7 separate regions of the Homo sapiens genome follow, and regions 1, 3, 4, 5, 6 and 7 are each linked to region 2. Evidence: promoter capture Hi-C in human tissues and cell types (Jung and others, 2019). All regions are on one chromosome and are shown on one strand. The core of a region is centred on a gene start or on the middle of the fragment in contact, and the rest is flanking DNA. Distances in the headings are between cores, read along the strand shown. Region 1 holds the start of DOCK8 (dedicator of cytokinesis 8). Region 2 holds the start of DMRT3 (doublesex and mab-3 related transcription factor 3). Region 3 overlaps DOCK8 (dedicator of cytokinesis 8). Region 4 overlaps DOCK8 (dedicator of cytokinesis 8). Region 5 has its middle 430 kb from the start of SMARCA2. Region 6 overlaps DOCK8 (dedicator of cytokinesis 8). Region 7 has its middle 410 kb from the start of SMARCA2.

The links. Contacts are between HindIII fragments. The study calls those that stand out against the background at their distance.
Region 1: a contact is called between the fragment with the promoter of DOCK8 here and the fragment with the promoter of DMRT3 in region 2, in 5 of the 25 tissues and cell types used here (heart left ventricle, heart right ventricle, mesendoderm cells and 2 more).
Region 3: a contact is called between a fragment that was not itself captured here and the fragment with the promoter of DMRT3 in region 2, in 2 of the 25 tissues and cell types used here (lymphoblastoid cells and mesendoderm cells).
Region 4: a fragment that was not itself captured here is called in contact with the fragment with the promoter of DMRT3 in region 2 in 4 of the 25 tissues and cell types used here (IMR-90 fibroblasts, aorta, dorsolateral prefrontal cortex and 1 more).
Region 5: a contact is called between a fragment that was not itself captured here and the fragment with the promoter of DMRT3 in region 2, in 3 of the 25 tissues and cell types used here (H1 embryonic stem cells, dorsolateral prefrontal cortex and mesenchymal stem cells).
Region 6: a fragment that was not itself captured here is called in contact with the fragment with the promoter of DMRT3 in region 2 in 6 of the 25 tissues and cell types used here (IMR-90 fibroblasts, adrenal gland, aorta and 3 more).
Region 7: a fragment that was not itself captured here is called in contact with the fragment with the promoter of DMRT3 in region 2 in 2 of the 25 tissues and cell types used here (hippocampus and lymphoblastoid cells).

The regions. Positions count from the first base shown.
Region 1 is chr9:212,429-216,114 of GRCh38, forward strand. DOCK8 (dedicator of cytokinesis 8) reads left to right here and starts at 2,437. Exons shown (of 48, transcript NM_203447.4): 1 at 2,437-2,601. The coding sequence starts at 2,549. It overlaps DOCK8-AS1 (DOCK8 antisense RNA 1), which reads right to left and starts at 3,322. Exons shown (of 1, transcript NR_160804.1): 1 at 1,029-3,322. RefSeq lists silencers at 2,192-2,441, 2,452-2,501, 2,552-2,601, 2,772-2,911. The HindIII fragment of the contact is 11,669 bases long and covers 1-3,686 here.
Region 2 is chr9:974,294-978,259 of GRCh38, forward strand. It overlaps DMRT3 (doublesex and mab-3 related transcription factor 3), which reads left to right and starts at 2,362. Exons shown (of 2, transcript NM_021240.4): 1 at 2,362-3,162. The coding sequence starts at 2,709. RefSeq lists enhancers at 1-995, 1,528-2,029, 2,030-2,529. The HindIII fragment of the contact is 20,406 bases long and covers 1-3,966 here.
Region 3 is chr9:375,061-379,194 of GRCh38, forward strand. DOCK8 (dedicator of cytokinesis 8) reads left to right here. Exons shown (of 48, transcript NM_203447.4): 19 at 1,150-1,245; 20 at 1,917-2,151. Among named protein-coding and RNA genes, the nearest start is that of DOCK8-AS2, 93 kb to the right of the region's middle. The HindIII fragment of the contact is 6,287 bases long and covers 1-4,134 here.
Region 4 is chr9:327,593-331,708 of GRCh38, forward strand. It overlaps DOCK8 (dedicator of cytokinesis 8), which reads left to right. Exons shown (of 48, transcript NM_203447.4): 9 at 430-579. Among named protein-coding and RNA genes, the nearest start is that of DOCK8-AS1, 110 kb to the left of the region's middle. RefSeq lists an enhancer at 3,390-4,116. The HindIII fragment of the contact is 5,602 bases long and covers 1-4,060 here.
Region 5 is chr9:1,580,916-1,584,927 of GRCh38, forward strand. No RefSeq gene overlaps it. Among named protein-coding and RNA genes, the nearest start is that of SMARCA2, 430 kb to the right of the region's middle. The HindIII fragment of the contact is 5,889 bases long and covers 1-4,012 here.
Region 6 is chr9:260,872-264,853 of GRCh38, forward strand. The region is part of intron 1 of DOCK8 (dedicator of cytokinesis 8); the gene reads left to right. Among named protein-coding and RNA genes, the nearest start is that of DOCK8-AS1, 47 kb to the left of the region's middle. The HindIII fragment of the contact is 9,940 bases long and covers 1-3,982 here.
Region 7 is chr9:1,604,411-1,608,630 of GRCh38, forward strand. No RefSeq gene overlaps it. Among named protein-coding and RNA genes, the nearest start is that of SMARCA2, 410 kb to the right of the region's middle. The HindIII fragment of the contact is 3,037 bases long and covers 773-3,809 here.

The sequences.
Region 1 (3,686 bases), core at 1,187-3,686, 760 kb before region 2:
GGAAAGAAGGAGGCCTCCCAGAGTTCTCTCTGGACAGAGGGCTGATGGAAAACGAAAGAGGCAGTGAGAATAAGGAAGAAAGGCACTTGGATGGCTATTTGCCAGCAATATGTGAATGTATCTAACAGCAGATCAAACTTGAAAACAGGCATTTGACTAAATTAATGGATAACACATTCATGGTGAATTGTTAAAAGAGTGTTAAGGAAATCTGGAGACAATTCTAACCATCAAGAAATTGACAGCACAGAGGATAATAATGCTGGCCTAACCTTCATGGTTAGGTACCAAATACTAAATCTATTGCAGTATGATCTGAGGCAAGATGGAAGGTTTTATGATTCCCACATTCACCCAAAAAGTTTCCTTGATTGCAAATGCTGAAAATCTGAGATGCTTTCATTACATTTTATTTATGTTTGTGTGAAACCAGTATATTTTTGTTCTATATGAAAATGTATGTCATAAACATTCAGAAATTCAGAGGAGTTCATCCGAAAGGCTGACATGGTACACCGTGGACCGAAGCCTCTGGGGCAAAATGTTTTCTATGTATCATTCGTTGAGTCTCAGTTTGAAGAAGTACTTACACATTTGTTCTCTTTGTATTTTGCTATCCAAATGTTTGCTCATAAATTCCAATGTAGTAAATAAGGACAGTTTTGAAAGTCAGAAACTCTAAATTTCAAAAAAGCTTTATTTTTCTTTGGGTTTGTTTTCGTATGTAGTCTATTGTAGTCTATGCAGTGAACTTTGTCTTATATGCTTAAAAGGGCACTGATATTTGGTGGGCATTGGGGGGCGGGGAGTTACCTAACCAGTACTGAAAAGTTACTAAACTACCTGACACAGCTGAAACCAGGAAGGAAGGCTGTATCAGGAAGAGACTGAATATAGTCCTTAGGTGGATTTTAGTATTAGGTGACAAATTAGGTTGTATTGGACTGGCACTGTCCAATAGGAATATAATGAGGCTCACAAATGTGAGCCACATGTGTAATTTTACATTTTTAAAAATGCAAACCACATTTTTAAAAGGGGAAAACAAACAGGTGAAATTAACTTTAATAATATATTTTTTATATCCAAAGTATCATTTAACATGCAATCAACATGAAAATCATTAACAAGACATTTTACACGATGTTTTCTGCGCTGTCTTTAAATTCCAGTGTACATTTTACACATCCAGCAGTGGGCAATTCAGACTAACCATAATGCCGAGTGGTCAATAGCCACATGTGGCTAGTGGCTATCATATTAAATAGTGCAGGTTTGAACCAAAAATACTTCGCTTTGGTTGTTTTTTTTTTTTTCTTTTAGACGGAGACTTGCTCTGTCGCCAGGCTGGAGTGCAGTGGCAGATCTCGGTTCACTGCAAGCTCCGCCTCCCGGGTTCAAGTGATTCCCCTGCCTCAGCCTCCCAAGTAGCTGGGACTAAGGCGTGCGCCACCACGCCCGGCTAATTTTTTGTATTTTAGTAGAGACGGGGTTTCACCACGTTGGCCAGGATGGTCTCGATCTCCTGACCTCGTGATGCGCCCGCCTCGGCCTCCCAAAGTGCTGGGATCACAGGCGTGAGCCACCGCGCCCGGCCTGCTTTGGTATTTTTTAAGAGCAAGTTGGTAAATGGAGGCATTATATGGAGAGTGCTCGAGTATATATAGCACAGGTTAGAGCAGCACGCCGGCACCTTGAAGCGAACACGGGCTCCTCCACTCCCGTCAACACTGGGACTTTTCTGTTTTTATCTTGAGTTTGAGGCCGGGCTTCTTAGCAGACCTCAGTCTGAAACTGAAATAAACCTGGACGCAGCGTACCCTTGAATCGCAAGAACGCCGCCTTCAGTGTTTCTCCGGAGAAAAGCATTCACGCCAGGTTGTGACGAAAACATTTTTTGAGAACTCATAATGTTTATTCCTTGGATGAATCCATTATATTTATTTAGTGTCTCAGGAAGGATGATGGGCATATTGCTTGCAAAAGTTGATTTGAATCCTGATAGATTCCACTAACTTTTTTGTCTTTTTTTTTGGCTGCCTTCTTCGAGAATGGTGTCAACCCTTAATAACACCTAGCCTTACGAATCCCTGGGGTGATTCCCGACCTCGCCAGCTTTGTGGGGCTCCCCCGACTTGCCTACATTCCCTGGCAGCCTCGCAGCTTCGGGCAGATGGAGCTTCCGGCCTGCGCGCAGTGGTCGCCTGTCGTCCGCCCGCGCTCCCTTCGGCCGGAGGTCGGCGGCCCCGGGCAGAGCGCGCCGTCTGCCCCAGTATCGGGAGGCCAGTTCCGCGCTGGGCCCACGCCCTCCTCGCCCGCCGCTGCCTGCGCGCCAGGCCGGGTGGCGGAGCCGGCCGTCGCTGCTCCGAGCTCGGACCCTCCCCCGGGGTGATTTCGGCTTAGAAGGTGGAAATGCGGAAGTTTCCAGCGCCGACCGACAGACGAGGTTTGCGCTTGGCTGGGCATGTTCCGCGGCTACTCTGCGGCGCGCCAGGCCCCCGCTTTCCGCACCCCGCGACCCTAGAAGCCACCGAACCGCCGGCGGGCCATGGCCACTCTGCCGAGCGCAGAGCGCCGCGCGTTCGCGCTCAAGATCAACAGGTAAGACGCCCCCCGCGGCGCGCAGGTTGCGGCCGGACAGCCCAGCGCTGGTGTGAAGCGGAGCTTCGCTGCAGGGGCCGAGGCCGGACGAGTCCATTCGCGTCCGCGGCGGGGCGCGCCTGAGACCTGGGGCGCCCGGTTCCCGAGGCTGCGGCGGTGGAGCCGCTGGACGCGCGGCGGCTCCTGCGCTGGGCCCGGCGAGGTCCTCCCCAAGAATCTCGGTGCTCCTGGATGTCCTCAGCCGCCGGGGATCCCTTCCCCGAACAACCTCGCCCGCTCCGCCCTCCAGGTTCTTACAGGTGGCCGGGTCCCAGAAGGGTGATAGGCGCCTGGGTAACCGTGTTGGGCGCGCCACGGAGTGTCTCATAAACGGCTCCTTCCTTTGAGGCAAGTCTGAGCGCGGGGGGAAGAAGTGAAGTGGCTGAAATTAGAGTTGCGTTTGAGGCAGGCTGCAAGCCTTCTGTCGTCCTGAGCAAGGCTCCGTCCTCGCCTGCTTCATTATTCCAGAAAGAGCTTGGCTCCTGGTGGCATCGCTATTTTTATACCCTGGTCCAAAGGAGCCATGAAGTGGAAAAAGTGATTTTTTAAAAAATCTACACTTAAATAAACCAAAAGAAATGGCCTGTGGCTGACATTTTGAGATTTACAGAACTCCAGCAAAAAGCTAAGGACTGGGGGATCCCAACTCACCATCCAATTCCTAATCAAAGTTGCACAAACTAAATATGTAAGCACATTTACTGCTCAAAGTTCTCAGTAAAGGTGCTTTAACTGCAGTTTTTCCTCCACTAAAAACTGCTGACAAGTAATTGGGACATTTTTGTCTTGCCCTGAGAAAGCTAGACTGTCTAGTTAAAAGATAATAGGAAACTCATTCTAAAGTGTCAACTTATTCTATTGCCCACAGGGCTGTCCGATTTGTTAATCTTCACTTAGCTGAGCCTGTGAAAGGTGGATTCCACCGTAGGTTCATCTTTGTGCTGTTAGTGTGTGAAGAGGTTTGAACAAGGAATTAAAAGCCTAGAAAAACAAGGCGATAAGGTCTTCTAGAGGGCATATCGAGCTTTATTGACGATTTTATTTCC
Region 2 (3,966 bases), core at 1,112-3,611:
ATAGACTTTGAGGCAGGGGACATTTTACCAACATAAATACAAACCTGTCCCTATAGGGAGATGTTGTCAAATACTGGGATATGGAAAACATTCCCATCAAATATGAGAAAAGGATTACTGCACTATATCAAATGAGTATTTAGATCTCAGCCCCCGATGTGCACCGGAGTGAAACGGGCCCCCGGGACCAAATGCCAGACTGTTTGAGTGGCAACGAGATAGGGTGGCTAGGTGACCGACGGGGGAAAAGGGGTCGCCTTGGTAGTGAAAGTGCCCCCACAAACCTGGTGCAGAGCTCTTCTGCTTTCCTTTTAAAAATTTATTCATACTCAAGTTCTTTATACTTCCTCGTTTCACTGTTTGAAGAAAATCGGAAGAAATTTGGTTTTGAAAAAAGTCGTTGGTCCCCACGTTTCCAAGAGATCCGGAGGTTTCAGCGCAATAGTTTTCAGTTAAGGTGTCATTTGAGGCCCTCTATATCGCAGCACGTTAAATGACTCGCGTCCAGCTCCCCATTTCCTAGCCTCGGGCCTACAGGGCTGGGGGCGACCTCTGCCTCCCGTCCCCAGAGCTTACAAAATTCCTTCCAGTTGTATTTTAGGGCTTGTTTTCCTAGAGAAGGTTGAGACTAGAGGAAGGATTAAAGTGGTGGGGGAAGGGGCAAGACCGAGGGGTCCCTACCCCACGCGGCTTTGGAGGATGGCCTCCCAGGGTTAGCACTCGAATGCTAGAGCTTCTTGTCCACACTCTACCAGGTCAGTGTCCCGCGATCCCCACCTCCCGGACGCGTATGAAACGGGAACAGCTAAGGGCTTCAAGGGAAACACACAACTGGGGTTCGGTTTTCAACCCTCCTCTCCGCAAATCAGCCTTCTGGGCAGAGGGTTGGCTGCTAGAACGCCTGGAGGTGCTTCCCTTGAATTCATGGCAAACACCAGAGGAAAGTTTTCAGGTTGCTTGCTTACTTCCAGGGCAGTACAGAGAAAAGCGGCCTCCCCGAGGGGACAAGGGCCTCTGTGCCCATGAGGGGTCGGACATTGCAGCGGACTTGCCTACGCTCTCATCTAGCATTTGATTCCCCACCAGGAGATGGGCTTGGTGCACGCTCTCAGAAGCGCATCCACCGAAGGCTCTGGAACTGCCCCGCTTCGCATAGAGCTATTGTGCTGCCCTGCAGTGTATCCACTTGTTTTGTTTGTTTGTTTGTTTTTTGGTTTTTGCTTGTTTGCTGATGGGCAGTGGGGAGGTGCGAGGGTGGAGGGCCTTCTTTGTGCATATATAGCGATAGTCTGCACTAGGCCAAGCCCGCTACTCCTGGGAGAATGGGAACACGCAAATAATCTAAACAAAGTTTTCTGCTGTCATCTTGTGAAGGACCCTCTCCCCCAAGACATCTATGACTGGGGTCTATGGGTTAAGGAGGTGAAAAAGTGGCCCCATCCCATATCCATAACTGAATCACAGAATCCGTGGGGATTTGAACTGAGTGGCTGGCGCAAGACCTCCGTTTGCTTCCAGTAGCTGCTGGGAGCGAGGGAAGAGGATATCGGTAACTTTGGGGGCGCCAATGTGGCTTCTGTGTCTGCCCCTTGAAAGTTTATACCCGGCGCTTAACAAATCCTTTACAGGAGCACGTACGTCCCTGACCTTTCAGGATACTGTTTTATATTAAAACATGGACAGGAGGGTAGAAAAGTAAAATTCGCCTGCAAAATGGCTTGTCATCCTTGGGCCGGCAGATCTCCAAAACCATTTTCTTCTAAAGCAACAAAAGAGAAAAAAATACGTTCTAAAAGGAAATTACGAAAAGAGCCTAACTTTCCTAAACCAACATCACTTCACTCCCCTATCCTAAACTCCACCCAGGTCCGGGGTGCAACCGCAACACTCCCGTAGGTTCGAGTTCTCCCGGAGCTGAGCTTCTGCGGCCAAATGTCGGGATAAAAGCGGCCTTGGGCTCGGAAAAACGCGGCCAGATCTGGACTGGAGGGAGGAGAAGAGAGAGAAGCGGAGCGGCCACCTCACTCGCTTACAGGCACCCCCACCCTCACTCCCGCTGGTCCTCCCCTTCTCCGCCCCGCGAGCACCGCCGCGTTCTGGAGCGCCGCAGTCTCCAGCCGCGGGCTGGGGTAGCGGAGAGGGCTTGGAGGAGGGGGCCGCGAGCGCCCCCGCGAGAGTGGCCTGGCTGCAGGTGGCAAGGAAGGTGAAGTGCAGGCACCCGAGGGGCGCAAAGGAGGAGGAAGGCGTGGGGCGGGGAGTGCAAGGAGACAGGGACCCCAGGGGCGGGGGTGGCGGTGGGAAGGAGGAGGGGTTGGGGGAGGGCGGCGGAGGTGTTGGGTCCGGCCGGCTCACGAGGGAGCTGCAGAAGAGCTGGCTCAGACCTTAATCAGAGCTGTCGCCGGCTCCTTGCAGCCGCCGCAGCGCCTCCGCGAAGGAGGACGTGCCGACCCGGCTGCGCGCCCAAGGCAGAGGCCCGCGTCGGCGTTGGCTGGGCGTGAGCTGGGAGGCCGAGCTGTGAGCGCGAAGGGAGCTGGAGAGACGACTGCGGCACCTCCGGCCGCCCCGGAGCACACACGACCACCGGGGCTGCGGGACCAAGGGCCGCGTCGCCCGGAGGCCGCCCCTGAGCGGGCCTCGCAGCCCCGCCGTCCAGCGCTCCCTGGCCCTCTCCCGCAGCCAGGCTGCCAACTCATTCGGGAGCCCGGGGCATGAACGGCTACGGCTCCCCCTACCTGTACATGGGCGGCCCGGTGTCGCAGCCGCCACGGGCGCCCCTGCAGCGCACGCCCAAGTGCGCGCGCTGCCGCAACCATGGCGTCCTGTCCTGGCTCAAGGGCCACAAGCGTTACTGCCGCTTCAAGGACTGCACCTGCGAGAAGTGCATCCTCATCATCGAGCGGCAGCGGGTCATGGCTGCGCAGGTGGCGCTGCGCCGGCAGCAGGCCAACGAGAGCTTGGAGAGCCTCATCCCCGACTCGCTGCGCGCTCTGCCAGGGCCCCCGCCGCCGGGGGACGCCGTCGCCGCCCCGCAGCCGCCGCCAGCCTCTCAGCCGTCGCAGCCGCAGCCGCCGCGCCCTGCTGCCGAGTTGGCCGCGGCCGCCGCGCTGCGTTGGACTGCCGAGCCGCAGCCCGGGGCTCTGCAGGCGCAGCTCGCCAAGCCAGGTAAGAGCGTCTGAGGTGCGGGAGTTTGGCCGGGCGCGGGGGCAACTTCGGAGTGCCAGCTGCAGCTCCACTTGGGAGGACTGGAGGCAAAGTTTTGGGACGTGGGCCTGTCGGGGCTTTCCTTCCTACTCTCCGCCAGGCCGGGGCTTCCTCTCCCGGGAGAAGCCGGCTGAGTCTGGACCCAGCGCGAGTGGCACTCGCGCCCGCAGGGAAGGCGCCTCCGGGCAGCCAAACGACGGGACTGTGCGTCAGTATCGCCAGGTGCCTTCCCAGGTTGAAGGGTTCGGAACGTGTCAGATTGAGCAGGGAGACAACGGAGTTGAGACAGGACAAAATTAAAACCCACGTGCGCACACTCACTACGGTGGGGTCGGATTTTCCTGGCTGCAGGCTTTAGAGGTCCTTGCCATTTGGGGGTTGGAATGGGTAGGTAGGTGTAGGGAAGGAGCCAAGGCCAACACTCGGCTGAGTCGAGCTGGCTGTGCTTCTCGGCCGGCCCGGCCCTGCCCAGGGCCCAGGAAAATTTGAGTGAGGACAAGTATCCAACTCTCAGAACCCTGGCCTTTCTAGCTTTGCTCCGTGGCCTCCAGACTCTTGTAACTGGTGAAATAAGTTCCATTTAGCAATGATAGTAAAAGGGTCCGGAAAGGCTTGTGAGCTGATAGCGGGAAAAGAATCTGATGCGCCCAGAATTCACTCCTTTGCAGAACCTCCTAGATCCTTTAACACTGTTCCCCAGGCTGCCCTCAGCTGTCTTCGTGGTTTAAAGGAATACAAAAAATCTGATCCCCCACCACCCATCCG
Region 3 (4,134 bases), core at 1,407-3,906, 600 kb before region 2:
CAGTCTTTTATAGGAAATTTTCAGGCTTTCAAATATTGGTAATTAATTTTTTAAAGTTCCTAATACTTCAAACAGAACGTGTGTGTAGGCTAGAGCCCACTTTGGGCCCCAGCTTTTGACTGCTTCAGATAGCTTTAAAGGTCTCCATCCCCTGTACACATCTACCTTTCATTATGATGAAAGACATACAAACCTAGGCGAGGCCCTCACTCAACACTGCAGGACATCTCTAAAGGAATGCAATTTCAATGGGAATTTAAGGCAAGAAACTGTCTGTAAGACCTACGAAGGTAATGATATATAAACGTATAAAAGAGTCACTTTGAGTAATTAAAGCAGGAGCCGACCTGGCCTAGAAACATGTGGGAAACACTTGGAAAAACTGTGGTGAAAGGGAAAGTAATATCGGGTACTCAAAAGTATTAAAATTTCATGTCTTGTAAAGATATTCTATACTTTGTCCTGACAATTCTGATTAATGGGGAAATTGCTGGGATCTTAATTTATTTTAATTCCTAGAATCCAGAATCATCAATGCTGGTTTGGAACTTAGAGACAGATTACACCGTTCAGCCCTCTTCTCACAGCATGAGAACAGAACACTAAGGCCCAGAAAGTTTAGTTGAGTCGTCTAAGTAAAAATAACTAGTTTGAAGCGGGGCACAGTGGCTCACACCTGTAATCCCAACATTTTGGGAGGCTGAAGTGGGCAGATCACTTGAGCCCAGAAGTTTGAGACCAGCTTGGGCAACATGGTGAAACCACATTTCTACAAAAAATAGAAAAATTAGTTGGGTGTGGTGGTGTGTGCCTGTAGTCCCCGCTACTCCAGAGACTGAGACGGGAGGATCATTTGAGCCCAGGAGGTCGAGGCTGCAGTGAACCGTGATTGCACCACTGCACTTCAGCCTGGCGACAGAGTGGGACCCTGTCTCAAAAGGAATGAATAAATACATAAATATTAACTAGTTTGGTGTAGAATTGAAGTTGAATCCAGGGCTCCTGACTCCAAGAACAGTTAGATTAGTTTTCAAGAGAGTTCTGTATTTGTATAACCCTGACATTTCCAGTCAAGTTGGTCTGCATTGCTTGTTAGTAATCAGAAAAGGGAATTGGATTGCTAATCTTTTTTTTTTCTCTTTAACACAGAAAGTCCCATTACAGAATCCTCCCATTAAGTGGGCTGAAGGACATAAGGGAGTATTTAATATTGAAGTGCAAGCTGTTTCTTCTGTACACACCCAGGTAAGGAATGTCAAGGTTAATCATGAAGGTAAAGGTGCAGCGGAGGAGCCTTTGAAGGACAGGCCAATAAAAGATCAGTGAAAATCCTTGTCTACAGATAAATAAAAAATAACCCTTTAGTTCTTTGTGGGGACATGCAAACCTCTTTAGGTTTCATTTGTCATTGGAATAGAAAGACCTTACAAAACCGCCGAGCACCTAAAGGAAAGAACCTAGTATCTGCACTGTTGGTGGAGAAACTTTGCAGGGGGACTTGATTTGAAACTCTCATCTGCTGTTACTTCTTTTCCCTCTGTAACTCTGCCACTTTGCCAGCTTTTAAAAAGAAATTCCGTACTCTCTCCTTTACCTGCCACTGTCTGAGTTCTGCATCTGCTGAGACCTCTCTCTTGGCAGTATGCTTACCTGGTACGCTGACCTCTGCTTACAGAACATGTCAGAGCCAAAATTATTTCTTCTTTAGCTAATAATTATTGAAACGTTCAACTTCATGCACCACATTCTACAAAGAAGTTCATAGCCTCGGTCTGAAACATCATGTCTTAGACCTTCTGGTCTGAAACGCTGGATAAGAGGTTCTACCCATAAAGAGCTATTCGATTGTGTTTGTGAATCCACTGGTGAACATTGATGGTATAAAACCCCATGAGGCCTGCCTTCTCCCTTCGCAGGACAACCACCTGGAGAAGTTCTTCACCCTCTGCCACTCCCTGGAGAGCCAGGTGACCTTCCCCATCCGCGTGCTGGATCAGAAAATCAGCGAGATGGCGCTGGAGCATGAGCTGAAGCTCAGCATCATCTGCCTGAACTCCTCCCGCCTGGAGCCGCTCGTGCTCTTCCTGCACCTGGTGCTGGACAAGCTCTTCCAGCTGTCCGTGCAGCCCATGGTCATCGCTGGCCAGACAGGTATGAACCTGCAGGGCTGGGCTGGGAGGAGGCAGGAGCAAGCAAGCATTGCCTTCTTTAATGAAAAATGACTTTCCAGAAATCCAGAGACAATGTGATCTTCCTTTCCACTGATGATGTGTGCTCAAGGGAGGCCAAGTCTTATGCTATTTTTTTTTTGAGACTCTCTGCATGTTGGAAAGAAAAAGAAACATTAAAATAGGGTTCTTAATATTATAGCTTTTTGTAAACTTTATTAAATGATTATAGGCAGTCTTTAAAATTCCATTTCTGGTAATTGATGAATTTATTTTACCTTGAAGATATTTTTGTTTTCTTGACTAACAGGAAATGGAACATTTTAAGGTAAGACAACCTGTGTTAAATGGAGGGAAGGAACTCTCTACATTGAAATGCAATGCAATCAATTTTTAAAGTTAAAACATAAACTCACTATTTTAAAGTGTATAGTTCATTGGTTTTTAGTATAGTCACAAGGTTGTGCAATGATCGCTACAATCTAGTTTTATAACATTTTCATCACCTCCAAATAAAACCCCATCACTCCCTATTCATCCCTCCCCCTAGAACTCATCCGTTCTCTCTTACAGTCTATTTTAAATGCTTACTTTTAACAAGTTAACACTAAATACAATGTGTACATTTTCCCTTAGAAATAATCTCAAAAGCTTATCCTGGAGGCATGACCAGAGTCCAGTGGTTCTCCTAACTCTTCCAGGGTAGACTGGCTGGTATAGGGCATCTTTATTTGCCACCATTTTCAGCTGTGCCTATATAGCTCTTTGCTTTCCAGTCCAGCAGACGTCTTTTGGGTACCATCCATATGCCCAGTACTGTACTAAAAGTTGTAGGCTTTGTGACAATAACCAAGAGCATCTCAGACCTCAGAGGACTTATAATATGGCAAAGAGTCAGCAGCACAGGACAAGACTCCTCAAAGGGACACAGCTAAATTTTGCAGTGGTTGTGGGGAGGGTGGTATCAAAGGAGAGAGTGAGAAAACATCCATCTGGGAGGATGCAGGAGGTCCACATAAAGAGATGGCCTTGAAGAAGGGATAGAGTGAAAACCGACAGAATAGGGGCAATGAGATGAGTGCAGCACTGCAGAGAACCAGAAAAGTGTGGGAGTGTCAGGAAGAAAGTCAGTAGCACAGTTGGTGGTGGAACAGAAGCACGTGTGGAAGTGGGCTGGGACAATGAAGTGAGACGGCTTTTAGAGCCAGGGAGGGGCATGTCCCCTTAATCTCTCACTCTGCTTTGCACCCTGATATGCATCTTCTGTGGTTCCACAGATCAAACGTCCTGTGTTGGAGGCTAACTTTTCATCCATGTAGCAGTTGCCTCTCCAGCTAGATTCTTGCAGAGCTCTGCCCTCCTTCGATTACTTTCTGTGCCCCCGCATATGTGGCACACTGCTTTGTATGTTCCAGCTAGTTAATACAGACTTGTTCACCAGACAAAAATATTTATATGTTTTGAGCAGCTTCTCCATAGCAAGTTGCCACCTTGTGGTGTGAGGACCACAGGGTGTTGGCATAGGCAGAATAAGTGGAGGTGGCTAGTCTACAAGCATTTATTCAGAACCTATTCTGTGTCTCTGCAATGGAAAGCACAGTGGGGGCACAAAAGATGTGAGAAATGCACTTCGCATGGGAAGGATTCCAGCTTTCACAGACAGACAGTTTACCACCAGACATGGCTGGAGAATCATGTAACTCAGTTTCACTTGAGCCCTGTACTGTGTGGAGTCAGACGGCTTCATGGAGGAGGTGGGACTTGTGCTGAGATTCACAGGGTCGGTATGATTTTGTGGATGGGAGTGAGGAGGGCTTCCTAGGCGAGGACAACAGCATGAGCAAAGTCTCAGAGGTAAGAGAGCAGGCATGATGGGACAATACAATGACTGCCTCATTTTAAGGGATGTCGAACTGAGCCAAAAAGGGTACAAGGTTAGATAAGTATATTGGAGCCAAACTATAGA
Region 4 (4,116 bases), core at 10-2,509, 650 kb before region 2:
CACCATGTTGCCCAGGCTGGTTTCAAACTCGTGAGCTCAAGCAATGTGCCCGCCTTGGCCTCCCAAAGTGCTGGGATTACGAGTGTGAACCACCACACCCAGTCCTTCCCTCATTCTTGATTGTGAATTAATTGAGAGCAGAGGTCCTCCTCTTCTGTAGTGAAGTAACTGATACTCAGGAAATACCGGTGGGTTAATAAACATTTAAATGTTTCAAGGAACATCTCTCAAATGGCTCCAGAATACCTAGACATTGTGACAAAACATTTGTCAGATTTATCCAGGAGCCACTTTCCTAAACCACATCTGTGATTATTACACTTACTCCTTCAGCAAAATTTCTCTGTGGTGTTTTTACTCCTTTTTAACATGTTTAAACCATGAATGCAACAGGTCTAACTTATATTTCACTTTGCTGCTCATTTACAGATCTCAGAAAATTTTCACTGTGACCTGAACTCTGACCAGTTCAAAGGATTTCTGCGAGCTCACACGCCTTCAGTGGCCGCATCAAGTCAGGCGAGATCTGCAGTCTTCTCAGTCACCTACCCGTCCTCAGACATCTACCTGGTAGTCAAGGTAATTCAGTACGATCTGATTTGCCCAATCTGATGTTTTCATTGCTGTGTTGTTCCCAGCACATGTTTGGGGTGCACGCAATCTCAGAATGTGTCCACATATCCTCTGAGATTCACTTTGTTTCCTTCTCAGTTTACCCCTTTTCCGTTCTAAGTAAACTGTTTCAGATACTAGAAAGACTAGGTTTTGGAGACACACAGACCTAGGTTTGAGTCCTGGCTTTACAACCTAGTAATTAAATGGCATTGGCAGTTTCCTGGTCTTTCTGAGACTGAGTTTCCTCATCTGTGAAGTGGAGATAATCACACTGACCTCAGTGGATAGTCATGACTACAGAATAAAGCTTGGCACATCTTGGGCACCCTTCTCCTAATTAAGGAGAGTTCCCTCAGTGACCTGGTGCAAAGAAGCTGCTGTGGAGAAAGGAACAAAATCTCTGGGCTAGAGTTTCCTAACGATGTTCATGTTGCTCTAGAGATGCATAGTTACGTGTTCCCAAGTCCAGCCTCTTACAAGCTGAAGCGTGGGCTGTGGTTTTCAAGTTTCATCCTCCTTTTTTTTTTTTCTTCTTACCATGTCACAGACTGTCTCTAATGAGAGTTGAAATCTATGGGGCAATTGTAAGTAGAAGAGCCTTTCATTCTAGGCTATACTCTTTGCTGTTGTAAGAAAACCAGATCCTTTCTCTGTACACCAAAATGACTGGTTAGAAATTAACAAACATCAGGTATTTTACCTACCTTAGGCCAGATAATTGGTCTTATTGATTCTTTTTTTTTTTTTTTTTTTTTTTTTTGAGAGGAGTTTTGCTCTTGTCACCCAGGCTGGAGTGCAGTGTCACCATGTCGGCTCACTGCAACCTCCACCTCCCGGGTTCAAACGATTCTCCTGCCTCAGCCTCCCGAGTAGCTGGGATTATAGGAGCCCACCACCCCAAACCAGGCTAATTTTTGTATTTTTAGTAGGGACAGGATTTCACCATGTTGGCCAGGCTGATCTCAAACTCCTGATCTCAGGTGATTCACCTGTATTTGGTTCCCAAAGTGTTGGGATTACAGGCGTGAGCCACTGTGCCCGGCCGTAAAATCATTGTAAAAACAAAACAACAAATTCAGGTGTCTGATTTCATGTGCCCCCAGCCTCTTAGGTTTGGAACATTATCTAGTTAGTACAGTGTTTTATGTCTGTAGTCTCAGTGATCGCCCCATGATCTCATGGATTCCAAATAATTCAGGTAGCTTTGAGGTCACTTAACAGATGGCAAATGTCTTTTCACTCTAGCTTCTTTAACACCATATAACAAAGATTATGAGAGGTTACTGTAGCTTGAGGGGAACTTATTTAAGCTTATAGAAGTATAGTTAAAATTATATTGCTGAAAAGACACTTCTATTGTTGTCAAACTTCAATGTGTCTCCTTTTCGTTGCAATATTACTTAGACATACAGGAAAATTAAAGCCCACTATGATAGCCCTGTAGGTAAGTTCACAATTCTCTGTCAGCCTAGGAAACTGAAGAAGCCAACACTAGTTCTATAGAGCCAAATTTTATCTCAAACTCTACTTCCCAGTGGATGACTTTCTCTTGATTAATCCGTCATATTCTGCCAAGTAACAGTGGTTACCCATTGGTTCCTATCACTTACTAAATATGTTCCAAAATTTTCAAATGTATAAATGTGTTCATTTGGCATAACAAACATACTAAAGTGTTTGGATAGGTTTAAGAAATTGAAATCTACTCAGCAAGACAGCCCCTGGTTGGCTTTCTGTTTGCTTTTCTTTATCGTAATGCCATCATTGTTGCTTCTTTCCCTTTAAATATATAGTAAATGGTGTTAAACTATTTAGCACATCCAGGCAGACATTATTTGGTAAGAGGGGCTTCTTTCTTTTTTGTTTATATTCCCAGGCCGAACATCAGGGTCTTTACTGTATTTTAGGTAGCATCATCTAGTTCAGGTGTTGCATATAATACGGCTTTAAGGGATTATTTCCGCTTAAAAGTTTAATTCAAGATTTTGTGAAATTTTTTTTTAAAAAGAATTTGTTTTACAATCAAGGAAAGAAGAGTGAAAATGGGATTGAATTGGAAACTTTTCAAAAATTGTTTAAAAATTGGTATGCCGTGCCCAATTTAAATATTTCATAAGTTGCGATGGGCCTATCCTTATGTAAGGGCCACATAGTTTGAGAAAACACAAAGCAGAGAGCCTAGCACTTTAGAAGTCTTGCAGATGTTAAATTTCCCATCTTAAAGAGTTTACAATCCAGTTAAAAAAACAACTTGGCATTCAAAGAAATGGGTTCAAATTCCTATTTTGCTACATTTGCTGTGTATGGTAGCAAGTTTAGTCTGTCAGTCTAATTGGACAATGATCCCTGTGCCTGAGTGGTTTTGAAGAAAATTGAAATAATGTATGTAAAAACACCTACCCTGTACCTGACATACCATAATTAGGTAAACAATAAATGGCCATGAAATATGAAAAAAATAGGTATGCCAAGTGTTAATCCTACCCCTTCTGAATAGAGCAGAAAGTAGTCTGTTCCCTTAAGAAAAGTTTTAGGTTAATCTGATAGGCTTATTTGCCCTACTTTCCATGGTTATGAGGAGTCATGCATTTCATTACACACTTTTGCATAAATCATGAGGGAACAAACAATAGGTTCTCATGTCGGTCTGCAGCTCCTTCTCATGAAGTACCTGGAGTTCTCCTTGCCCACTGCAGCCAGGGCATAGTATCTGCTGGTCTGGTCAAATCTGACTTCTCCTGCTTCCTGTATGTTCCATGATACACACTACTAGTGCATGAAGCCGTGGCATTCCCCTTCCTTGCTTCAGGGTCCTAATTAAGAAGTTCTTCATCTCTGTTCAGAATTTATTCTAAAGACCACATTTTTAATCCATTCACTTCATGGAAAAATTAGCTTCCTTCCAATTTGTTCTACAAGCTCCTGACTATGAGCTTCAGGAGAATGGGGGCAGTGTTTATCGCCACCTTATCTCCCAGCTGCTACCATATAGAAGGTACTCAACAATAAGTAAACGATTGCTGATTAGCAGGAATACTGGTCAGTTTCTAGCTCAAGTGTTACGTGCTTATGTTTTCAGTGTGGTGCATCTCTCAGTGGGATTCGCCTTCTCTTCATGCTGTGGCAATGGGAGGGGGTTTTGAACTTCTTTGATGAGAAGAGAGACTTCCTGCTTGGAGTCCTCCCTGAAGCAGATATTCATTGAGTAGCCTCATGCTGCTTCCTTTGAAACCCCATAAATGCCCCTTTATCATGGGTATTGTTAAATACTTTGTGCCTAACTCACAGCACCTATTAAGTATGTGTCCCTTTTGTACTGTGTTGACCCAAATTCTTTCTTCAAGGATCATCTCAACTGATGGGACTAAATCCACTGGTTTTACTCTTCAACATCTAAGTTAAATTTTTTTTGAGCAGAGAGTTAGGAAATTTCAAATTTCTCCTTGTCTTTCTTTTAAATATGGTGCCCAAATTTATGACAACTGGCCAGCCAGTCACTTT
Region 5 (4,012 bases), core at 253-2,752, 610 kb after region 2:
TACAGTTACTTTAAATGTCAAAAGGGATTTTGGAGATACGATTAAGTTAGATTATCTTTGATTACTTTGGTGGGCCAAAACTAATTATTTGGGTAATGTAGGACTTTTACAGAATTGTAAAATAATAAATTTATGTCAATTTAAGCCACAAAATTTGTTTATTTGGTAGAGCAACAATAGAAAAATAATACACTATTTCTGTAAAATACCCTAAATTTAAGGTAAGGAAAAAAGAGATAAAATAATCAAGGCATAAGAGACTAGAAATTCTCAAGAATATGCTTTATTCAGTTCTTAGAAATTCAGCAAGGAGCTTAGTGTCCCTAAAATAAGAAGAATAAACCCAGAGATATACCAGCATCAGAATCTAACAGGAAGTCAGTGTTCTAGTGATAAGATCAAACTAATGGTCCATAAAAGAATAGCTCTACTTCCATATGGACTTCGGGGACTGAAAGGCCTGATTGAGCAAAGTCTTAGGGATAGAAGTAGGGTCCGTTGTCAAGAGCCTAGGACTTAATGAAAGTTGGGTTTAATACTGGTAGCATTATTTATTAGCTTTATGAATTTAGGAAAACTCCAAAACTGGTCCAAGCCTCAGTTTCCTCACCTGTCAAATGACAATATTAAACATGCATTACTAAAGAGGATGTCATGAGACACATATGTAACCTCAGCACAATTCTGTGCACAGAATAGCATTAAGTAACCACTTTCCATTTTCATTATTCTTACTGGAAATGAATTGATATTACTGGACTCTAGCAAACTAAAATAGAATAGCTGTAGTAGATTAATTTATTTGATCTATCAAAGGGTTTTTCTGTGTATCATATACTATATCAGGCACTTGGAATAGAGCAATGAATAAAACATAGTGCTACCCCTCACTAAGCTTAGTGTCTCCTAAACAATAGTTCTTTTTAAAAACAATAGGGTGATTTAATGTTTTCAGCCAGTGACAGGGAAACTGAGTGCTGAAAATATAAACTTCTGATATACTTCAAGAGCATATAGTCTATGTCATAATATTAATAATATATGATCATTGTAATGAAAACCATACATAAATGTTTATTGAGCTTTATGTTATTTAGAAAGTGACAGCAGAATGTCATTTATTAATGTCAGACAATTGGGAAATCATGATGTTAGTGGGCTGTTTGGGGAAGTGCTGTATTTTCTCACTGCAATTTCTCTGGGCCCAAGTTTACCATTAGAAGTAAGTTTGTGCCAAAATCTCAACAGATGTTAAAGATAAAATTTGACAAAAGAAAAAAATCACTTCACTGAACCAGCAAATGGGTGAAATGGTTTATATTGAGAGAATGATTTAAACTTCCTCAAGCAGTATATGAAGATAATAGTTCTTATTTTGAAGTTCTGCTGTAGAAGGAAGACAGGATTATCAGGACCAAATGAGAGGGGCTGAAAGCAAGAAATTCTACATGTACACTATTTAGGGCCAGTATCAGCCCATGCAGGGGCAAGGAACAGAGTGATAGTTTCTTGAGAGCTGGTTAGTTGTCATAGGGCTGACATTATCACAAGCATTGTCCAGAGATAACCTAGGACAGTCATAGCAAATGTTGCTTGTATATACTATTTAAAATGTTTTCTTCCCCCCCCTTTTTTTTTAAAAAATTATACTCAAGTTCTGGGACACGTGCAGAACATGTAGATTTGTTACATACGTTTACATGTGCCTTGGTGGTTTGCTGCACCTCTTAACCCGCCATCTACATTAGGAATTTCTCCTAATGCTATCCCTCCTCTTGATCCCCAATAGGCCCCAGTGTGTGGTGTTCCCCTCCCCTGTGCCCATATGTTCTCATCGTTCAACTCCCACTTGTGAGTGAGAACATGCAGTGTTTGGTTTTCTGTTCCTGTGTTAGTTTGCTGAGAATGATGGTTTCTCGCTTCATCCGTGTCGCCACAAAGGACATGAACTCATTCTTTTTTATGGCTGCATAGTATAAGGAAAATGTGGCACATATACAGCTTTTACTTCTTACTTGTGGAGAATTTAGGGCCTTCTTGGGTCTTTCTTGAGTATGTACGTAGCCCTATGCAAGAACATGTCTCTGCATGTGAGGGCCCTTCTAGATTCGTAGGAAAATGTCAGATCTTTCCTATGCTTTAATAGATGGATCCGACAAGCTTTTTAAAAAGTGTTTTGGTCAACACGTCCTTTCACAACCTGAAGCAATTGCCACTAATTATTTCAACAAATATCCCTGGGCAAAACTGTGTTTATACTGAAAGAGCTCTAACACAGGTCACATACAGACAAGTATTGGGAGTAGGATTTTCCAAGGAAATGCCAGACAGGCCAAATAATGACAGGTGAGAATGGAGCTTTGTAGGAATTCCAACCCCAAATACATTCTCCAGTGGCTGCTAGACTACTGGTTTCAAGATAATTACAAGGCTATTGGTTTTCAAGGCTACCACAGATGGGAAGAGGAAGATGGGGATAGGGTAAGTTGAAACATCACAAAACTTAATGTTTTTACTGAGAATGTCATTTTTCTTTCTTTTTTTTTAAATTATACTCTAAGTTCTAGGGTACATGTGTACAACGTGCAGGTTTGTTACATATGTATACATGTGCCATGTTGGTGTGCTACACCCATTAACTCCTCATTTACTTTAGGTATATCTCCTAATGCTATCCCTCCACCCACCCCACGACAGGCCCTGGTGTGTGATGTTCCCTGTCCTGTGTCCAAGTGTTCTTATTGTTCAATTCCCACCTATGAGTGAGAATATGTGGTGTTTGGTTTTCTGTCCTTGCAATAGTTTGCTGAGAATGATGGTTTCCAGCTTCATCCATGTCCCTACAAAGGACATGAACTCATCCTTTTTTATGGCTGCATAGTATTCCATGGTGTATATGTGCCATTTTCTTAATCCAGTCTATCATTGATGGACATTTGGGTTGGTTCCAAGTCTTTGCTATTGCGAATAGTGCCGCAATAAACATTCATGTGCATGTGGCTTTACAGAAGCATGATTTATAATCCTTTGGGTTTATGCCCAGTAATGGGATGGCTGGGTCAAATGGTATTTCTAGTTCTAGATCCCTGAGGAATCGCCACACTGACTTCCACAATGGTTGAACTAGTTTACTGCCCCACCAACAGTGTAAAAGTGTTCCTATTTCTCCACATCCTCTCCAGCACCTGTTGTTTCCTGACTTTTTAATGATCGCCATTCTAACTGGTGTGAGATGGTATCTCATTGTGGTTTTGATTTGCATTTCTCTGATGTCCAGTGATGATGAGCATTTTTTCATGTGTCTGTTGGCTGCATAAATGTCTTCTTTTGAGAAGTGTCTGTTCATATCCTTTGCCCACTTTTTGATGGTGTTGTTTGATTTTGTCTTGTAGATTTGTTTAAGTTCTTTGTAGATTCTGGATATTAGCCTTTGTCAGATGGGTAGATTGTAAAAATGTTCTCCCATTCTGTAGGTTGCCTGTTCACTCTGATGGTAGTTTCTTTTGCTGTGCAGAAGCTCTTTAGTTTAATTGGATCCCATTTGTCAATTTTGGTTTTTGTTGCCATTGCTTTTGGCATTTTAGTGAAGAAGTCCTTGCCCATGCCTATGTCCTGAATGGTATTGCCTAGGTTTTCTTCTAGGGATTTTATGGTTTTAGGTCTAAAATTTAAGTCTTTAACCCATCTTGAATTAATTTTTGTATGCAGTGTAAGGAAGGGATCCAGTTTCAGCTTTGTACATATGGCTAGCCAGTTCTCCCAGCACCATTTATTCAATAGAGAATCCTTTTCCCCTTTCTTGTTTTTGTCAGGTTTGTCAAAGATCAGATAGTTGTAGATGTGTGGCATTATTTCTGAGGGCTCTGTTCTGTTCCATTGCTGTATAGCTCTGTTTTGGTACCAGTACCATGCTGTTTTGGTTACTGTAGCCTTGTAGTATAGTTTGAAGTCAGGCAGCGTGATGCCTCCAGCTTTGTTCTTTTGGCTTTTGGATTGTCTTTCCATATGAACT
Region 6 (3,982 bases), core at 969-3,468, 710 kb before region 2:
ATGGGTGAACACTACAACATAGACGACTCTCAAGTACTGTATTCCCATTTGTGTAAATAAAAATGTGGGAAAGAATGTATACATGTATTTGCTTATAAACTCTATATGCACAGAAGGAAACACAAGAAATTATTACCCCGGGAGGCAGAGCTTGTAGTGAGCGGAGATCGTGCCACTGCACTCCAGCCTGGGCGACAGAGCAAGACTCCGTCTCAAAAAAAAAAAAAAAAAGAAATTATTACCTAGATTGTCTATGCAGAGGGAACTGGGTACCTGGCAGACAGGAGTAGGAGGGAGACATTGTACAATATGCTTTTTTATACTTTTTATATTTAAAATTGCAAAATATCTTACATGCTCAAAATAAAAATAGAATAGCTTATATAACTATGTCTAAATATTACATGTAGTTTTCTTCTCTGGCTATTTTCTTTTTGGTTTTTATATAATTTTTTAAAATCCACTTACTTAGCCCAGGCACATAAATGGAAAGAAAGATATGCTTAAAATTATGTTATTTGCAAAAACAAATATTTAGATGTTTTAGAGCTAGTATGTTTTTGTTGGTTTCTAGTTTAGTTCTACATGGCATCAGACTAGCTACTCTATATGATTTCTGGACCTTTGCAATTTGTTAAGATTTGTTTTATGGTCGGGGATATGGTCAATATGTAAATGTTTAATGTGTGCAAGAAGAATGTGTACTCTGAAGTTAGGCATAGTGTTTTCTGTATATGTCAATTAGCACAAGTCTGTTTATCATGTTCAAGCTCTGTGTATCTCTGGGTTTTTTTAATCTGCATGATAGAACAGAAGTATGTTTGAAACTTTTATTGTAGTTGTGGATGTAATATTTTTCCTCTACTTTTGCAGTTCTTGCTTTATATATTTTGAGCCTATATTACTTGGTACATACATATTTAGAATTGTTGTGTCTTCCTGGTGGATTGCCCTTTGATTATTTAGGAAATGTCTCTCTCTTCGGTAATGCTTCTTAAAGTCCATTTTGTCTGATAGTACTATAGCTACCTCAGCTTTCTTTTGGCTAGGTTTCATAACTTTTTAAATTCTTTCACTGTCAGTCTTTTTATGTCCTTATATTTAAAATGTGTCAAAAGAAAGAAGGAGAAAGAAAGAAAGAAAGAAAGAAAGAAAGAAAGAAAGACACCGCGATTTACCTATGTTACAAACATGTATATGTAACCCTAAACCTAAAATAAAAGTTAAATATAAATAAATAAAGTGTCTCTTCATGAAAACTTTCTTAGCATCATTAGTCATTAGGGAAATGCAAATTAAAAACACAATGAGATACCACCACATACAACATGTCTAGTATAATGGCTAAAATGAAAAATACTAACAACACCAAGTATTGTTGAACATATGGAAAAACTGGAACACTGATTATGGGAGTATACAACCATGTTGTAAAACACTTTAACTGGTCATTTACCCAAGAGGAATGAAAGAATGTATCCATATAAAGATTTGAACACAAATGTTTACAGCAACTTTATTTGTAATAGGTAAAAACTGAAAACAACTCAAATGTCCATAGACAGATGAATGGATTTAAAAAAAACCATGTTATATCCATACAAAGGAATACTCCTCTATAATAAAAGGGAGTAAACTACTAATACACAGTGCAATATAGATGGATTGCAAAATGATTCTGTTGAATGGAAGAAGCCAGACCAAAAAAAGAGATATATTGTATGATTCTATTTATGTAAAATTCTCGAAAATGCAAAGGATCTACAGTGACAGAAAGCAAATTAGTAGTTACCAGGAGACGGAGGGTAAAAATTAAGAAGGGGCATGAAGAAACTTTTTTATTGTAGTAATGGTCTCATGGGTCTATACGTATGTCAAAGCTTATCTAATTGTATACTTTAAATATGTGCAGTTCATTGCCAGCTAATTATACTCAATCTGTTTTTAAAAGTAAAATGTGCTTCTTATAAGTAACAATTTTTTAAAATGTAGTCTGATGACCTTTGTCTTTTAATTAGAGAATTTAATCTGTTTACATTTAATAACTGATATAGGCAGGGCACGGTGGCTCCCGCCTGTAATCCCAGCACTTTGGGAGGCCGAGGCGGGTGGATCACCTGAGGTCAGGAGTTGAAGACCAGCCTAGCCAACGTGGTGAAACCCCGTCTTTACTAAGAATACAAAAATGAGCCGGGCGTGGTGGCAGGTGCCTGTAGTCTCAGCTACTCAGGAGGCTGAGGCTGGAGAATCGCTTAAACTGGGGAGGCAGAGGTTGCAGTGAGCTGGGATTGCACCACTGCACTTCAACCTGGGTGACAGAGGGAGATTCCATCTCAAAAGGAAAAAAAAAAAACCTGATATATTTGGGTATAAATGTTCAATCCTACTGTAGGTTTTTTTTTCCATTTTGCCCACTTGTTTCTTGTTGCTATAGTCATTACAACAATACATGTTTGACTTATTAGAATCCTAGTATTAATTAGTACTTTTACCATTTCCCAGATGATATAATATGGGCTTTAAAACACATGAAATCCGTTTACCCCTCAAACCTTTTGTGTATCATTGATGTTTTAATTCTATGTATATTTTAAACTTCACATTATTATCATTATTATATTTATATTGCACAGTCACTATCATTTAGATTTACTTATGTTTACCCTTTTGGTGTATTTCAATGCTTTCAGCACTTCTGTGTTTCCCTTTGGGATTGCTTTTCTTCTGCCTCAAAAACTCTCCTTACTATTTATTTTAGTATGGCTCTGCTGGTGATAAATTCTCTCCATTTTTGTTTATCTGGTAAAATATTTTTCCTTCATTACTTATGAAGAATATTTTCACTAGGTAGAAAATTCTAGATTGTTAGTTATTTTATTTCAGCACTTTGAAGATGTCATTGCATTGGTTTGTGGATTTCACTTTTTCAATTGAGAAGTTAATTTTGTTGGTTGCATTATTACACTTTGAAGATAATGTGTCTTTTCCCTGGATGTTTTAAAGATTTTTCTCTTTGACTTTCAGTAGTTCTACTATGATGTGTCTAGGTTTGATTTCCTCTGTATTGATTCTGATGGGCATTTATAGAACTTTATGAAGCTGCGTCTGGTATTTTTGCCAGCCAGTATTTCTTTAAATATTACTTCTGCTCCAGTTTCATCTCTCCTCCTCCTTTGGGATCCAGCTTACACAGGTTACATCTGTTACTTTATGACTCAACACACTTTTCTGGAAAGACTCTCTTTTCTTTAAACACAAGACACTAAATGGTTACAGGTGTTCTTTTAGGTGATTATGCTGCTTCATCAGCAGATGGTGATTATATCAAGAAGGAAACTTATATGATGACATATAAAAGCTGGGGAGAGGAGATGTCTCTGAAGACAGTGAGAAATCCTTCTCTAGTCTTGCTGCTGGAACCCTCAAACACTTAAGTCATCTAATAAACATTCTACTGTCTTCAGAGGAATTTTCTCAGTGAAAGGGATTTGGGACACCCCTGTGAGGAAGAAACATAAGTTCCATGCCTTCCAAATAAGGGGCAAACTTTTCTTTGTAGTCATGTTTCCACCTGTTGAATCCGTTTTATGGAAGTTGTACAGTTATGGCTTGTCTGTTTATGAGAAGAGATAGAGAATATGAGAAACGATAAAACCTGAAATAATCCATTGTGAGGCCACAGGCTGAAGAACTTACAAGGAATTTATTCTAGACTTTATGGCTGAAAATATGTATGCATATATGTATATGAGTGTATGGAGATACAGTTATGGATAGAGATCTATAGATATATGTGTAGATATATAGATACATAAAGTTTGCTACAGAAATTCATTTTGTACACTTTTAAAAGTGCACTTTACTAAAAGCATCCAAGAATGCATCTCAGAAAAAGCCTTAGATTTCTTTTATGTGGTCAACTCCAGGAACTACTCACTCTTGAGATAGATGTGTGTTTTCAGAGCTTATCCATGCCATGCAC
Region 7 (4,220 bases), core at 1,041-3,540, 630 kb after region 2:
ACACAAAAACCCAGTCAGTTCAAAAGCTGCTACGGTGGAGGGCCTCACCTCTAGCTTTCTCCCGGCTGTGGCTCTTGCCAATGGAGTGGACCAAGACTATCCCAATTCTCAAGTACCTGACCATTAGGGAGAGTCCCAGGGGTGTAAGGTGGTGTCGCTATTAATAGTGTTAATATAAGAGCTTGGAATGAGAAATGCCAGAGGTTTCATATAAGACTAGGTCATATGTAGCAAGCTTGGAGAGGATGGAACAGACAGACAAAGCCAAAAGTAGTCCCAAGAAGTGAAGTATGGATGTACAGCAATGGTGGGTGAAAAAAGCAGTGGAATCCCAGATTGGGTTAATTTCTAATTTTGCCAACTATGTCATAGCATAGTTCTGCTGTAATTTAAAGTGTCTAAGCCAAGAGAGAATTAAGTGAAATTTTAAAGGTAATAGTAGCAATATTTGGTAGTGTAGTATAAAAAACACATATTTTATGTTTTCTGCAGGTTAATAAAAATTCCCATTTTTGCAAACAAATTCTAGTCATAAAAAACAAACTTGGAAACGTCCTGTAAATTTTGTTGGCCAGTTAGGATTGTGTATTTATTTCTAGTTTCTTACTGACTACTTTAAAAAAATTGAGGCAACAGATAAGTCATCCTCATCCACATAACTGCTTAAGAGAGGCATTAATTCTGTGCTATGAACCCCTAACTTCCCTCATTAAACTAGTCTGTCCTGAGCAACAGAGGCACCTAGTGGTTGTTACAGGAAACTCTCTAATGCTGTTTCTTTAGTGCTTCTCAATCTGCAGCCTGCAGGATCTTCAAGAGCGCTAGTTAAAACACAAATTGCTGGACACCACTCCTAGAGTTTCTGATTCAGTAGATCTAGGATGGGGCTCAGTAATATGCATTTCTAACATGTTCCCAGGAAATTTAGGAAAGCAATGCCGCTAGTCTTGGAGCCACACTTTGAGAATCTCTGCTTTACCATAATGGTCGTTCTTCTAAGGAACGTATGTAAAGGTTGTATGCCATGATTTTCAACACTTTTGCTGACCACAGGTCAGCTCATTTCACACTTTAGACCATTTTTTTTCATATGGACCCACAGCTTCTTATGTAACTGCATATTTGTACCATGTCTTGTCTAGCATTTACCTAAGACATCAAGAAAAAAGATTTTTTTTTGTTTTTCCTTTCTTTTCATTTTCTTTTTCTTCTTTTTGTAATTGAGATTAAAAAAGGAAAAAGAAGAACCTGACATGGTCTGATAAACATGACTGGTTAACACATCTGATTAAATAAATAACACCACAAGCTTTGAAATTTGCCAATTGCCATTATATACTGAAGCCTTAGAAAGTGTCCAATTATTCTTATCTCCACTAAAGTTTCCACTTGCTTCCACATCTTCCTCTAATTAAAGCGTGTTTTCATCAATAAATAATATGCAGAGTAGAAAATGTTATTGTATTATTTTTGTTGTTATTATCTATTTTGTTGAAAGCAAGCATAGAATCTCATAAACACATTATGTGTTAAGGAGATTTTGAGAAGCCATAAACATAATTTATATTCTTATTTCTCTGTGGAACAGGCTCTAACTTCTAAAATATATCAACTTATAAGTGACCTTTGGAAACTATCCATTTATAAGTTTATAAATGCTCACACAAGGCTTTGGCGATTCAGTTGCCTTGTGTTACCTATAGGAATCATAAAAGAGAATTAATAAAAAAAACAGCAGAGAAGCAGGTCTGTGGTGCTTAAGACTGTTACTCACAACCAAATGGGAGAATGTGGCTTACCCTATAACTTTCAGAATTGTCATGGTGGTATTTTTAAAGGCCTTATCTTTTTATTCAACGTTAGGAGCATTTTGAAAATAAAACTACACAAACAACTGTTCCTCCTAGTTTTATCTTTTCAAAAAAAACCCCAAAAACCAAAAAGCTTCATGAGACATTGATGCATGTGCAGCTTCCTCAGAGCCAGTGTGCAATCCATCCGTCACTTCCCCCCAGCAATTATGTCTCAGACTCTAAAACAGGAAGCTCGAGTATCCACTCTCGATGGAGATGAAAGATGTGTGGAGAATGCCCTGACGCCACCTTTTCAGTGTCTCCACAGCTAGAATCACTTTATAGGCCAAGTGAAAAACTACTGAGGACTAATTTGTCAACAAAGACTTTCTTTGAAGTTAGGCAGACAAGTGGATTCAAAACAATTGTATGTGTGAGTAACATTGGGCATGCTTTTTTTTTTTTTTTTCTCCTGGGAACAGCCAGGACTTTTGACACAGCAGAGCTACAAGTGTGGAACATTGATTTAGTAGGACCTTTGTGACTGACAGTCTCTTAGATCTCTCAACCTCTGGAAAATAAGGAAAGCTTATAAGGTAAACTGAGGTGTTGATGCTTCCTACGTCTTTTTCAAGGTTTCTTCTGTGAGGAAAGATGGAGCCATAATTCTCCTCTCCATTCAACCCTGAGACCCAGCTTCTGCAGCCCTAGCTGGGATAAGGTATTGGTTTATGGAAAATGGATATTTAAGATCATAAAGGTATTGCTGACACCCATTTACCCAAAGACACAAGCCCTGGAAGGAAACATGGGAGTTAATACCCTGTTATGTCTCCATGGGTCTTGGGATTCTGGCTCCAACAATGTTGGGATGTTTGTCTCTTACTGAGAGTGAAATTCTTTGGAGATAAGGTTATGTGACTGAGACTCAAGAATCTGGTGCTGAGCTGCACCAGATTGCTCTGGCCAAGAGTGTTCTCTTCATATGCTCCTGTAAGGTAACTAAATCCTTATCTCCTAGGAGCAGCTGCTGTGTTGCATATAACCGAGGATACCAATCATGCTGTAATCAATATAATTCAAATTTAAATTATCCAGCATTATTCCTGCTTGCAATTCACAACCAAACTCATCAGTGGCAAAGATTTCATCATCTTATCAGAAAAACTCTCTTCGAATGTATTAGACTCATTATACTTGTGTACTTAATTCCCACCAAGACCCAAGTGGAATTATCTTCAAATCAGCTTGTTTATGATAAGCAGTCCAAAATGACCTCAAAAATCGTGGACAAGCCTGAAAACCTGAGAAGGATGACAGTCTTCTACCAGGAGCAAGGGATTTTCCAGGTTGGGTCCCCTTTTTGTCTTCTTCCTTCTTTGCCTTCAGGGCAGGATTTCTACCAACTCTTGGTATTCTTTGGTTCCAGAGCCCTCCCTTTGCAAAGCAGCTCCGATATCCTTACACTGGGGAGAGTCCAGAGAGTCCAGGCCTGCAGTGCAGAATACCAGTGCCTCTCTGTGTCCGGAAGGCAGCACGTCTGTATTTATCATGGTCGGAATAATATCAGCATATGCAAAAAACAACTGCTGCCTTCAGGTCTCCAGCACCCAAAAACAAAAATAAGTCCAACAAACCTAATATATTTTCCAGTGCGTGTCCCAGAAGGTTGAAAAAACTCCTTAAATTGCTTTTCTTTCCATTTTTATGGCCCTGGAAGGGGGGAATATCTATCAAATTTAATATATGCATTTTAGTTTGTGACACTTTCAGATTCAGCCATATCTGTAATGAAAACAGAGCAACCTTTAAAATTAAAAAAAAAAAAAAAAGTCCTTTCTACCAGAGACATGGCCTGAATCAGGGCCAAAGATTTCAAGCTGGTGAACCAGCAAAGGAGTCAGATAAATCAGAATGAGTGTAACAGATCTGATCTATTTCAGCTCAGATTAACCTCTTTACTATGTCTTCAATGGCCAAAAAGCCTGGGTCACAGGAGTAAAAATGTCTAATAAAGCAGAACCCTGGGGAAAAAAACTAAAAGAAGTGAATCGCATAAAGAAAAGTGAGACGTGTGACCATGGCAAAACATGACTGGCTATGGTGAGGATTGAGAAAGGGGAGGGAAACATTCTTTACCATGCCAGTCCAAGAGGCAGATTTATTTCACTTGTATATAATAATTCTAGATCCCAGTGACAATTTACATTACTTGACAACAGCTGCTTATAGGTCAGGTAACAATAGCACTGAATAATCTCATAATGAACAACTGTGGATTTCACATTGGTGTTAATTGCATTTCATGCTCTTTGAAAGCCTCAAACAGGCAGTGTGAAAAACACAACCAGGTTCTTCTTTGCTTATTTTTTTTCCCCCGGGAGAAAGCCTTTCCAAATCCTCAAAAGGAAGGTGGAGGGTGAGAAG